Regions from separate parts of the Homo sapiens genome. Here regions 2, 3 and 4 are each linked to region 1. The links are contacts of gene promoters, found by promoter capture Hi-C in human tissues and cell types (Jung and others, 2019). All regions are on one chromosome and are shown on one strand. Each heading gives the region's core, a stretch centred on a gene start or on the middle of the fragment in contact. The rest is flanking DNA. Distances are from core to core; before and after follow the strand shown. Region 1 holds the start of CHAC1 (ChaC glutathione specific gamma-glutamylcyclotransferase 1). Region 2 holds the start of INO80 (INO80 complex ATPase subunit). Region 3 has its middle 51 kb from the start of INO80. Region 4 overlaps DNAJC17 (DnaJ heat shock protein family (Hsp40) member C17).

Region 1 (2,700 bases), core at 36-2,535:
AGCGCATGCCTGTAATCCCAGCTACTCGGGAGGCTGAGGTGGGAGAATCGCTTGAATCTGGAAGGCAGATGTTGCAGTGAGCCAAGATTGCATCACTGCACTCCAGCCTGGGCAACAGAGCAAGACTCTGTCTCAAAAACAAACAAACAAAACAACAACAACAACAACAAAAAAAAAAAACAGTTGACAAAGTGGTCTAGTACCAGGGAAGACAGGATTCCTCCTCAAAGTGTGGTCCAGGATGTGGTGGCATCACCTGTAAGCTAGTTAGGAATGCTGTGTCTCAGGACCCATTCTCATGCTACTGAACTAAAATCTGCATTCTAACAAGATCCTCATGTGATTTGGTGAGAAGCACTGAGCTAGAACACGTTTCTACTCTGCCAGAGAAGCATCAGACAGAGCTAGCCTGCAGCCAAGAGCCTATGAGCTCTCTCTGCTGGTCCCCCTTCACACTGGGCCAGGGTTCCCCTTCATGATTCGGGCACTTACCTCATGATCTTCAAGGAGCGTCACCACACGGCCAGGCTAGGGAGGGAAGAAATATTTTGAAATAGACAAGTTAGAAATCAGCTCTGCCATCAGCAAGGAAACCTTTATCAATCCCGCTGACCCGGGCCTCCAAGTGCCCCACTCTGCATGCTGAGTCCCATTCATGCAGGGGAAGGTGGGGGAGCGATGCACGGATGTAGGAGAAACGTCCAGAAACACTGACATGTCAGTGGTCCCAGTTGGTGATCAACACAGGGATCCACAGGTTCACAGACTCCAGCCATCACAGTGATGCACTGGGCACATACATTTAAATGAGCCACAAACCCCAGACACAGGTTTACACATTTCTTTCTATTGGCCCAGAGAGCCCCGGACATTCCAGGGCACTGGCGCCCAGTATCCCGCCCCCAACCCCCTCACTCCCCTGGGCACGGTTGGATGCTCACCATCTTGTCGCTGCCCCGATGGAAGGTGTCTCCCTGCCAGAAACGGCGGCTGTAGCCGCGCACGAAGCCCACACGGCTGTCGCTGTAGGCGAAGTCGGGCCTCCACACCAGGGAGCCGTACCCGAAAATCCACAGCGCTTGAGGGTCGCCGTCGTTTCGGGGGAACTGAGCGGACGGCGTAGGGGACTGCGAGGTGGGCGGGGTGTTCGGGGCTGCAGACTCCTGCTTCATGGTGCCTGGCACAGGGATAGGCCCAGGCGGCCTCCGGGGCTGGTCTCCGGCGTGGGCACGGAAAGACCGACGGACGCACACACCTGGCCTGGCACCGCTCGGTAGCTCCAGCTGAGCGCCCCCCATGGAGGCGCCCTTTAAACCTTCTTGCCGGGAGACCACGCCCACCGCGGCCAGCTGCCGCGGTGATTGGGGTGGGGCAAATCCCCTTTTGGCCAATCAACTTCGGATTCTGCTTCTCACTTAACCGCGCCGCGGGCCCAGCGCGCCCGCTGATTGGTTCAGCTCCACCTCTGTGGCAAACCTGGCAGGAGTGATGCAACGGCAGGGGAGGTTTCTCCAGCGCCGGCATGCAGCAAGGGCGCCTCGGATTGCGTCAGGCGGCGGGCAGGGGGCACCCGCCGGGCCCAGGGCGGGCACCGGGCGGGCGTCTCCCCAGCCGCCCCCTCATGACCTGGGCCCCTTGGAGGTACGGCGAGCGAGTCCCAGGCGGTGTCAGCCCAGCCTTGCCGCTAGTGCATCTGGCCGAGTCCCTGCCAGCCTAGGCGGCACAGACTCAGTCCCAAGTCGAGTCCAGGGCACGTCCAGAAGGAGCGCTCTGGGCGTCGTAAACTTCCGTCTCTGGGGCCCCTCCTGAGATCATGCACTGCGGGAAAGCTGTCGGAGGCACCGTCCGCATTCCGCTCAAGTGCCTCACGCCGTTGGCCATTGTGAGCAAATGGAGAAACTGGGCCACGGGGCTGCAGGGGGTTCTGCAGAGACTGCGGGGCTGAGTTAGGTAGGCCAGGCGCCCGGAGCTTGCAGGCCTCACATGGGCTACGCCCCGGACCAGGTGTGGGACCCCTCGAGCCCAGGTAGGCTCGGGGAAGAGCCTGTTAGAGCGCTTGGACCGACCGGCAGTCACTTTGGAGGTGGTGGCTGCACCTGCGGAGAAAGGCTATAAAGATGCAAAAGCCAGGCTAGTCTTGCCCCCAAGGCGATGGGTTTAATTCTTCCTGGACGTGAGATTTTGCAGCAATGATTAATCCATAGGCACAAGGTTCCGGGAGCAGCGGGCAAGGAGGGCCCAGTGAGGCCCCCACAAGACTATGGCCAGCTACTGGTCTTCTCCCTCGGCTTCTGGCCTCCCAGCCGAGTCCACAGGCCGCCGGGGGTTGACCCAATACGCAGCAAGGGACTGCCCTCAGGGGATGTCACTGACTGTAAAAGGGAAACAGAGGCAGCTGAAGGCCTTCTCTCTAAACTGGCCAGGAGATGGCTGGCAGGGGCAATGTGCAACATGGCTTCTCATTCGATTCTAATTCAATATTTAAACTAAACGTGATCTTCACACTTCACATATTCATTCCGAAGGTGTCGCAGATATAAGTGGGAAACTTGCACAACAGTGTGTATAGTACAAAGCTATTTCTTTAAAAACAAAAAGTATTCGTGTAATAAATAATCTGGAAGAATATACCTAAACAGTTAGCAGAGGCTGGCACCAGAGGAGGACTTTCAGTATCAAACTTAAACAGTAATGAAAAAG
Region 2 (2,700 bases), core at 22-2,521, 160 kb before region 1:
CAGGTGATTCGACCACCTGACCTCCCAAAGTGCTGGGATTACAGGCGTGTGGCACTGCACCCTGACACAAATTTAACTTTTTAAAGGTCAGTTAACTCAGCACAAGAAGGCTACTTGATGACCTTAATAAAGTACTTTTTAGTTAAATGCTAAGGGCCAGGTTAAAATGGATTAAAGAATGAGACCCAAAGGAACTGAATTAACAGCATATTTAACTTTCAGTAAGTTCTAATTCTTATCTACACCTAGGCCTTACCCTAGGCAATTCTCACCACACATCCTGGTAGTTGGGTCGATTACATTTATTATGTTGTCTTTTTTGTAGAGACGGGGTCTCGCTATGTTGACCAGTCTAATGGACTGCTCTGAGACGTTTGGCCTGAGGTGATCCTTCCAGGCAGGAGGATCACTTCAGGCCAGGAGACTGGGAACCAGCCCAGTAGACTGGGCAACATAGCGAGACCCCAAGTTTAGTAAATGTGGGTGGCAGTGGACTCAAATTGTAGAATTGGCACAGGTAAAAGCAATTATTCGCTTTTCAGAGGCACACTGTGTGGATGTGAGAACAGGCTGGCATTTCCGATAACAGGTCTGCGTGTTCCCAAGTCCTTGTATCCCACAACCTTCACGTAGACATCTTATCTAACTATGCTGTCCTACCCAACCTATAGCGTTCTTGCTCCCAGAGTCTAAATGGGAGCCCCAAACTAATTACTGTATAGTAGTCGAACTACACACCAGGCACTTCCCCGACAATCTACAACCCCATCCAAAGGGGTCAGAAACTAGTAACAAAATACCAGCTGCGAGCCTCTCCTTCCCCTAAAGAGATCTTATCAACTTGGCTGCACCTTCCCACCTCTAGCCTGCGGGAACAAATATCCCAGGATCCCGGGCGGTTTCGATTGACGTTACTTCCGGGAAAAGTAACCTTGCATCGGCGGTTGCGGGCCTGGAAAGCTCTCGCGACATTTTCTCCTGCGAGATCTGCTTGCTCACTGTAGCGATGACATCCTCCTCCTCCTCCCCGCCGCCTTTCGGCAATCTTCGCCAGTCCCAGTCCCGACTAATCTGTACTCAGATGGCATGGATCAGGGTCTCCCCTCGAACCCCGGTTCGCACGGGGCGTCAGGTGGCAGCGGCGGGGTGCGAGCTGCGCGAGGCCGACGGCAGCGGCACTACGGGTGGCCACGGGCAGGCGACGAGCAGTGAGTGTGGGCGGGGTGGGGGTAAGCCACCCGTGTAGCGGCTCGATTGTTCTGGCCTGGCTATGGCGCCTCTCCTCCCCCCCGCCATGGCTCCCCGTGTCCCTGCTCCGCTCCTCTCAGTGAGTGAAAGTGGCCGCCGCCGCCGCCGGCCCAGCGCCCGCAGCCGCCTCAGCGCCGCCGCCATCTTGGGGTCCCAGGAGCCGCGGAGGGAGCGAGCTAGGAGCGTCCACGCCCAACGCAGTCACCGTCCCACGGCCTCAGAGAGCGAACCGCGGCTCCACCGTCGGCGGGGCGACCCCCCCCTCCGGACCCCGCCCGCACCCCGCCCCCCCTCCGCCGCCGTCGCGGCGGCGGGGCCAGGCGGCCCGAGGTGAGGCAACTAGACGTGGGCGGGCGAACGGAGTGGGGGTTGTGTAGGTCTTGTTGCGCCCCTCTCTGCGGGCGACAACTGGGCCGCGTCTTAAAGGGGCCGTCGCCCCCGGCCCTTGGATTTGTTGGGGTTAGTATGGAGGATGGGTGTGGACACTCCCCGCAGGGTTGGGACCTCAGGGACTAGGGCCTTGTCCTTCCCGTTTCATATCTCTGGAGACCCGGGGTCATGCGGTGACCTCAGCCACCTGAGGAAGCCCGTGGGGCGCCCACACGTGGGGAGTGTGTTAGACCAGGTGCACGTGGGACCCGGTGGGGCGGTGTCGGGCTAACACGTGTGTAGGTTTGGGGGTGGGCAGGGGCAGGGCGGAGGCTGGAAGGCCTTGAGTGGGAACCCCGTGAAGGTTGTGTATCTGTCATTTTAAACAAATGAGATCTAAGGGCTTGTTAGTGTGTCATTTTGTAAGGGGCAAGTTGAGATACGGTTGAATGGTGCACGCTGCTGGCTGGTGTTGGGTGGGGGCAGGCTGACACCTGCATAGACTTGGGAGTGTCTAGATGACACCTCTTCTGGTTTTTTAGGTTTTTACATAGCGACTAGGAAAGTGTCATCCTATTTTGACATTCCTTCTTGAGCTCGCTAATGGAAAGTACTACTTCCGTAATCTCCGAGGCTAGAAGCCCCCTACAGTTTAGGAATGACAGAACCTAGGCAGCCACTTACTATTCTAGTTAACAGCCAACTGTGCCTGGAATTCTTTGATTCACACACTGTCTCTAGTTTGATGTACTTGTTAGAAATGGGGGAAGGAATTTGGAGGTTGACCTGGCTAACGTCACAGGTTACTTTTCCAGTCAGTGACTTTCATTATTTCCTCCACAACAAAATTATTGTGGCTTTTCAGTGGCAACTTAAATTAAATAATAGCTTTATTGAAATATGATTCAAATACCAAAAAATTCCGCTTTCTAAAGCGTATAATTAAGTAATTTTCTGAAACTATATTTATTAAATTCTGTAGCCATCAACCACTATTTAATTCATCACCCTAAAAGAGAATCTCTAGAAGCCATTTAGCAGTCACTCCCCATTCCCCCTCCCTCCAGTCTTAGGTAACTATTA
Region 3 (2,700 bases), core at 101-2,600, 210 kb before region 1:
CGGAGCTTGCAGTGAGCCGAGATTGCGCCACTGCACACTCCAGCCTGGGCGACGAGCGAGACTCCCTCTCAAAAAAAAAAAAAAGTAAACAGGAAGAGATACACACAGAGACCAAGAAGGAGAAGACAAATAGGAAGAAAATCAGAATAGTATTATGTAAACCAGAAACCTCATTTGTAGTTTGATGAACTCTCATTGTAAGTTATATCAACCACAAATTATTTTTAACGGTTTTACTAAGATATAATTTTTTTTTTTTTTGAGACAGAGTTTCACTCTTGTTGCCTAGCCTGGAGTGCAATGGCTTGATCTCAGATCACTACAACCTCCGCCTTCTGGGTTCAAGCGATTCTCCTGCCTCCTCCCAAGTAGCTGGGATTACAGGCATGCACCACCCCGCCTGGCTAATTTTGTATTTTTAGTAGAGCCAGGGTTTCACCATCTTGGTCAGGTTGGTCTTGAACTCCCGACCTCAGGTGATCCACCTGCCTTGGCCTCCCGAAGTGCTGGGATTACAGGCGTGAGCCACCGCGCCCGACTGATATAATTTTTTTTTTTTTGAGACAGTGTTTCACTCTATCACCCAGGATAGAGTGCAGTGGCGAAATCTTAGCTCACTGCAACCTCCACCCTCTGGGGTTAAGTGATCCTCCCACTTCAGTAGCTGGGACCACAGGCGTGCACCACCATACCCAGCTATTTTTTTGTATTTTTAGTAGAGACAGAGTCTCGCCATGTTGCCCAGGCTGGTCTCGAACTCTTGGACCCAAGCGAACTGCCCACCTTGGCCTCTTTTTCTTTCAAGTCAAATGATTTTGTTAGACTATGTTTTGGTGTTGGTCATTCTGGATCACCATTTTCAGATACAGTGTGATTTTTAAAATATGCTGTATAGTTTTTTGTTTGTTTTTTAGAGATGGGGTTCTTATTATACTGCCAAGGCTAGACTCCAACTCCTGGCCTCAAGTGATCCTCCCAAAGTGCTGGGATTACAGGCATGAGACGCCCTGCCCGGCCATCTTACATAATATTCTTAATGCATTTTAGCTTTTTATGCACCAATATATTAGAGTGTTCATCTATTTATTTTTTATTTTTTTTATTTTGAGACACTCTCACTCTGTCACCCAGGCTGGAGTGCAGTGACATAATCACTGCTCACTGCAGTCTTGACTTCCTGGGCTCAAGCAATCTTCCCACCTGAGCCTCCCAAGTAGCTAGGACTAGAGGCATGTGCCACCATGCCCAGCTAGTTTTCAAAAAAAAATTTGGGGCTGGGCGCAGTGTCTCACACCTGTAATCCCAGCACTTTGGGAGGCCGAGGCAGGCGGATCACAAGGTCAGGAGTTCGAGACCAGCCTGGCCAGTATGGTGAAACTTCATCTCTACTAAAAATACAAAAATTAGCCAGGCACTGTAGCATGCGCCTGTAGTCCCAGCTACTCAGGAGGCTGAGGCAGAAGAATCGCTTGAACTCGGGAGGCGGAGGTTGCAGTGAGCCGAGATCACGCCATTCCATTGCAGCCTGGGTGATAGAGCAAGACTCCATCTCAAAAAAAAAAAAAAAAGGGGTTTCTTTGGGCCAGGCATGGTGACACATGCCTGTAATCCCAGCTACTGGGGAGGTGAGGCAGGAGAATCACTTGAACCCAGAGGTGGAGGTTGCAGTGAGCTGAGATCACGCCACTGCACTCCAGCCTGGGTGAAAGAATTAGACTTCGTCTCAAAAAAAAATTTTTTTGGCGGGGGCAGACAGGTTCCCACTATGTTGTCCAGGCGGTCTAGAACTCCTGGCTTCAATCAGTTTTCCTGCCTTGGCTCCCCAAAGTGCTGGCATTACAGGTGTGAGCCACCACATCAGGCTAGGCTCAATTAATTTTTTAACTTCACAGAGCTTCCTATTTTGTTGTTTTTGTGTAGTGTTAAAATCACAGTTATTTGCTTTCTGAGATTTCTTGGCTTTGTCTTCTTCCCTAGTACTTTTATCTCTCTTTCCTTTCTGTTTTCCCTACCCTGCTCAGTTTTTGTTCCATTTCTAGAAGTTTCTCCCCAGTGTGTGAACTTGTCCTGGAAGGGATCCATGGTTGGTTATTATACAGAGCTTATAGGGTCTAGACTGTTCAAGCCTGGGTATACCTTCAGACTGTGGGATCCTTTCATGCAATTGCTATTGGAGTGAAAAAACCCCTTTTGGTTTCAGCTGTTGTTCTCAAATTGGCGCTTAACACTCTCTAGTGAATACCAATTTTCTTCTTAGGTCTGTCAGATACCCCATTGCTTCCCTCTACTGTTTTTCCCACATGGTTGTCAGTATCTCTTGGGTTGTCCCCACCTCTTTGCAATTTCAGGTTTATGAGTTACTTCATCACCCAGTATGTTGTAAATATTGTTCATGGGTTTGGAGTTTTGTCCTCTAATTATTCTGTTTTTACATGGGGATTTGAGAAGATCTAGAAAGTATGCCACCGTTACCACCCTGCCATCTTCCCAGAATCTTGGTATATACTTTCCTTGCTTCTAAAAGGCCTAATACTATGGCTTCCATCTTGGGTGCACTCTTTCTGTCAGATCACTTGTTCTGGTTGCCATGTTGGGAGAATACTTTTGGGAGGATTCGGCCCGACAGAGAACCAAGGACTCCAGCCGACAGTCTGTGAGGGACTATGTCTTCATCTCCCACAACCAAACAGTGGTCATTCC
Region 4 (2,700 bases), core at 93-2,592, 170 kb after region 1:
GTTGCCCATGCTGATCTTGAACTCCTGGCTTCAGGCGATCCTCTTGCTTTGGCCTACCAAAGTGTTAGGATTACAGGCATCAGCCACCATGCCTGGCCAGAGGGGACTTTTAGGCAGGTGCCCAGAGCTCTGTTGTTTGCTTCCTGCGTGTGACATCAGGCAGTCATATACCTCTGGGGTTCCTGCTAGTGAGGGGATGGGGAGGCATCTGCCTCTCCGGGCTTGGGGAGACGTGGCTGCCCCAGCTGTTATCACTCACTGTGCCTGTGACTGGAACTGGGCCTGGCAGTGGGTTTCCAGCTGATTTACCCGGGATGCTTTGTCCATTCAGTGCTTGTTGTCACATAGAGCTGCCTCCCTCTGTGTCCTCCTTATCTAAGTCTAACCTATCAGCCTCGGCCTCTTTACTTGTACCACTTACTTACCTGGCTCCAAGCTTTATTACAAGAAAGGACAGCAACCTTTTAAAAAATAATGATCCCTTCTTTGTAGGGCACCTTTCTTTTAAGTTAATGATGGCTATTTTGTATTTATTGGATCCCTTAGCACTTAGCTTTTTTGGGTGAGTCAGGAGTTCCTTCCCCCATCAAGAGGTGAAACTGGAGGCAGGTGGATGTCAGAGGCCCTGCTGTGTGCTTGCGGCAAAACCCAGTGGAGGTGGCTAGAGACCCAGCTTCCAGCCCTCCTCCCCTGCTCTGGGTTCAGGTTGCTGAAAGTGGTAGAACCGGTTATAGAGCTTCCGGGGAAGGGCTGGGTGGCTGCCAATTTATTATTCATTGTCTGATGTGGGCAATGAGGGGGTAACATTTAGTTCCCACTGTGGTTATCCTGGCAGTCTGCTTTAGTAATTCCTTCCCTTTCCCAGACTTGGTTTTTTAAGAGGAGGTGTTAGCAGGGAGGAGGAGAAATTGTGAAATAGTGGTCAGATCTCCTAGGGTCTGGATGGCACCTACTTCCTTCTGCTCCTCAGTGGGTCTGAAGTAATTGACATAGTTGAGGTTTCCGATTGTGTTTTGGTTGAGAACAAATGAATGTTTGCCAATTCATGCAACAGATATTTATTGTGTGCCTGCTGAATGCCAGGTGCTGTTCACTGTTCTGGACCCTGGGGAGAAGCAGAACTCCCTGCCTCCTAAGTACATCCACTTTATTTGTAAGGGGAACCCCCATACCTTCCTATACCCTTATGCTCTCATTTAAGGTATAGTTATAACCAGCTTATCTGTTTCTCTAGACCATACCAGAAAAGAAGCAGCAGATGAGCAGCACTTCTAGGGAAGGGCTGGCATCTGGCAGTCTAGTAGAGGCCAACTAAGGAAGTAATAGGAAAACTATTAAAAGAGTAGAATTTAAAATCCTCGCCACCTAGGGAAGCAAATGAAAAGCCTGACACCACTCTCCGTAGAACGTGTCATACTATTCAGTAGTTGATGTTCTGGATGATGATCCTGAGACATCAAAAACAGATTAAACTCAACCAGTCTAGGATGGAAAAAGGGTGGTAGACAGTGAGGTTTTTAGAAAGCCATCAGGAGAAAGACCAAGTTTCTGCAAATTGCAGTTCGAAGTACTCACGGAGCTTACATTTATCTGAGATCTTCGTCCTTCTGAGGCTGGGCCTTAGAAAGAGCTTCTCCTCTGAAAAGCCATGATCTGGATGGGGAACTTTGGGTTGGAAACATTTGAACTGTCACCTGGATCCTTTGTGAAGTCTCAGAAATGCAAGTGTTTCTAAGCGCTAGAGAGACCAGGGGATTTAGGGGAAACCTATAGGTAAAGAAGAAAAGCTGCAAGTGAAAAGCCACACCTTGCTGTGGCTGCTTCAGCTCTGCCTCAGTGATCCCAGCACCTGCAGACACAGTTTCTTTCTTTCTCTTTTTAGAGATGGGGTCTTGCTCTGTTGCCCAGGGTGGTCTCAAACTCCTGGGCTCAAGCGATCCTCCCGCCTCACCTTCCCAAAATGCTGGGATTACAGGCGTGAGCCACTGGACCTGGGCCAGAGTCAGTTTCTGGAGGAGCTTCCAACCCGGGATACCTGGCTTTCAGCAGTCCTGTTTATCCTATATCATAAGGAGTAAGATTATAGAGGATGGCCCTTCTATTTCTTGTTCTTCTGAAAGTTCCTCTCCTTCCCAATTTTGTGATAGTTATAAAAAATAATTGTTGTACATTTTTACCCTGAATCTAGCCTTTTGAGCTGTTCATAAGGTAGGATTATTTAATAATAAACAATATTGAGACCGGAAGGTTTTTCAAAGGCCTGCTTTAGGAGAGTTGTGTTTACATGGTGAGAAATTCTTCAGGCAGCAGTCAACTCCAGGAGGGCTGGACAAAGCTGGGAATCTAGTTTGTAGTACAAAGCACCAAATTCTAGGCCAACCGGTTCAAAGTCAAAACTGGTCTTCCAGGCTAAAACCAAGGGATGGGCCCTGCCCAGGGCAGGTTTAACAGTTAAATATAGTAATAACTAGTTAATCAAGACAGACATACTTGACCAACATTCTTAGGCCAGCTGGGTTTTGATTCAAGGCCACTCTGGAAGATCTCAGGCTACCTACCCATCCCTTCTACCCCTTGAATAAGAGTATTTCAGAGACCCTGGGAGTGAACCCAGGATTGAATTTTAGATCTACCCCACAGCAGACTCAAATCCAGCCCTGTCCACCTAGAGAATTCAAATGGAGTTGACCTGCATCCACT

The links. Contacts are between HindIII fragments. The study calls those that stand out against the background at their distance.
Region 2: the fragment with the promoter of INO80 here is called in contact with the fragment with the promoter of CHAC1 in region 1 in 2 of the 25 tissues and cell types used here (lymphoblastoid cells and mesenchymal stem cells).
Region 3: a fragment that was not itself captured here is called in contact with the fragment with the promoter of CHAC1 in region 1 in 6 of the 25 tissues and cell types used here (IMR-90 fibroblasts, adrenal gland, lymphoblastoid cells and 3 more).
Region 4: a fragment that was not itself captured here is called in contact with the fragment with the promoter of CHAC1 in region 1 in 2 of the 25 tissues and cell types used here (pancreas and spleen).

Annotation. Positions count from the first base shown.
Region 1 is chr15:40,952,056-40,954,755 of GRCh38, reverse strand. CHAC1 (ChaC glutathione specific gamma-glutamylcyclotransferase 1) reads right to left here and starts at 1,285. Exons shown (of 3, transcript NM_024111.6): 1 at 942-1,285; 2 at 493-528. The coding sequence starts at 1,172. RefSeq lists a silencer at 1,552-1,811 and an enhancer at 1,483-2,076. The HindIII fragment of the contact is 19,989 bases long and covers 1-2,700 here.
Region 2 is chr15:41,114,851-41,117,550 of GRCh38, reverse strand. It overlaps INO80 (INO80 complex ATPase subunit), which reads left to right and starts at 1,271. Exons shown (of 36, transcript NM_017553.3): 1 at 1,271-1,578. RefSeq lists enhancers at 1-67, 784-883, 849-1,628, 1,694-1,773, 1,824-1,873 and 2 more and a silencer at 1,324-1,593. The HindIII fragment of the contact is 26,384 bases long and covers 1-2,700 here.
Region 3 is chr15:41,165,771-41,168,470 of GRCh38, reverse strand. No RefSeq gene overlaps it. Among named protein-coding and RNA genes, the nearest start is that of INO80, 51 kb to the right of the region's middle. The HindIII fragment of the contact is 6,382 bases long and covers 1-2,700 here.
Region 4 is chr15:40,785,679-40,788,378 of GRCh38, reverse strand. The region is part of intron 1 of DNAJC17 (DnaJ heat shock protein family (Hsp40) member C17); the gene reads left to right. Among named protein-coding and RNA genes, the nearest start is that of C15orf62, 17 kb to the right of the region's middle. The HindIII fragment of the contact is 6,259 bases long and covers 1-2,700 here.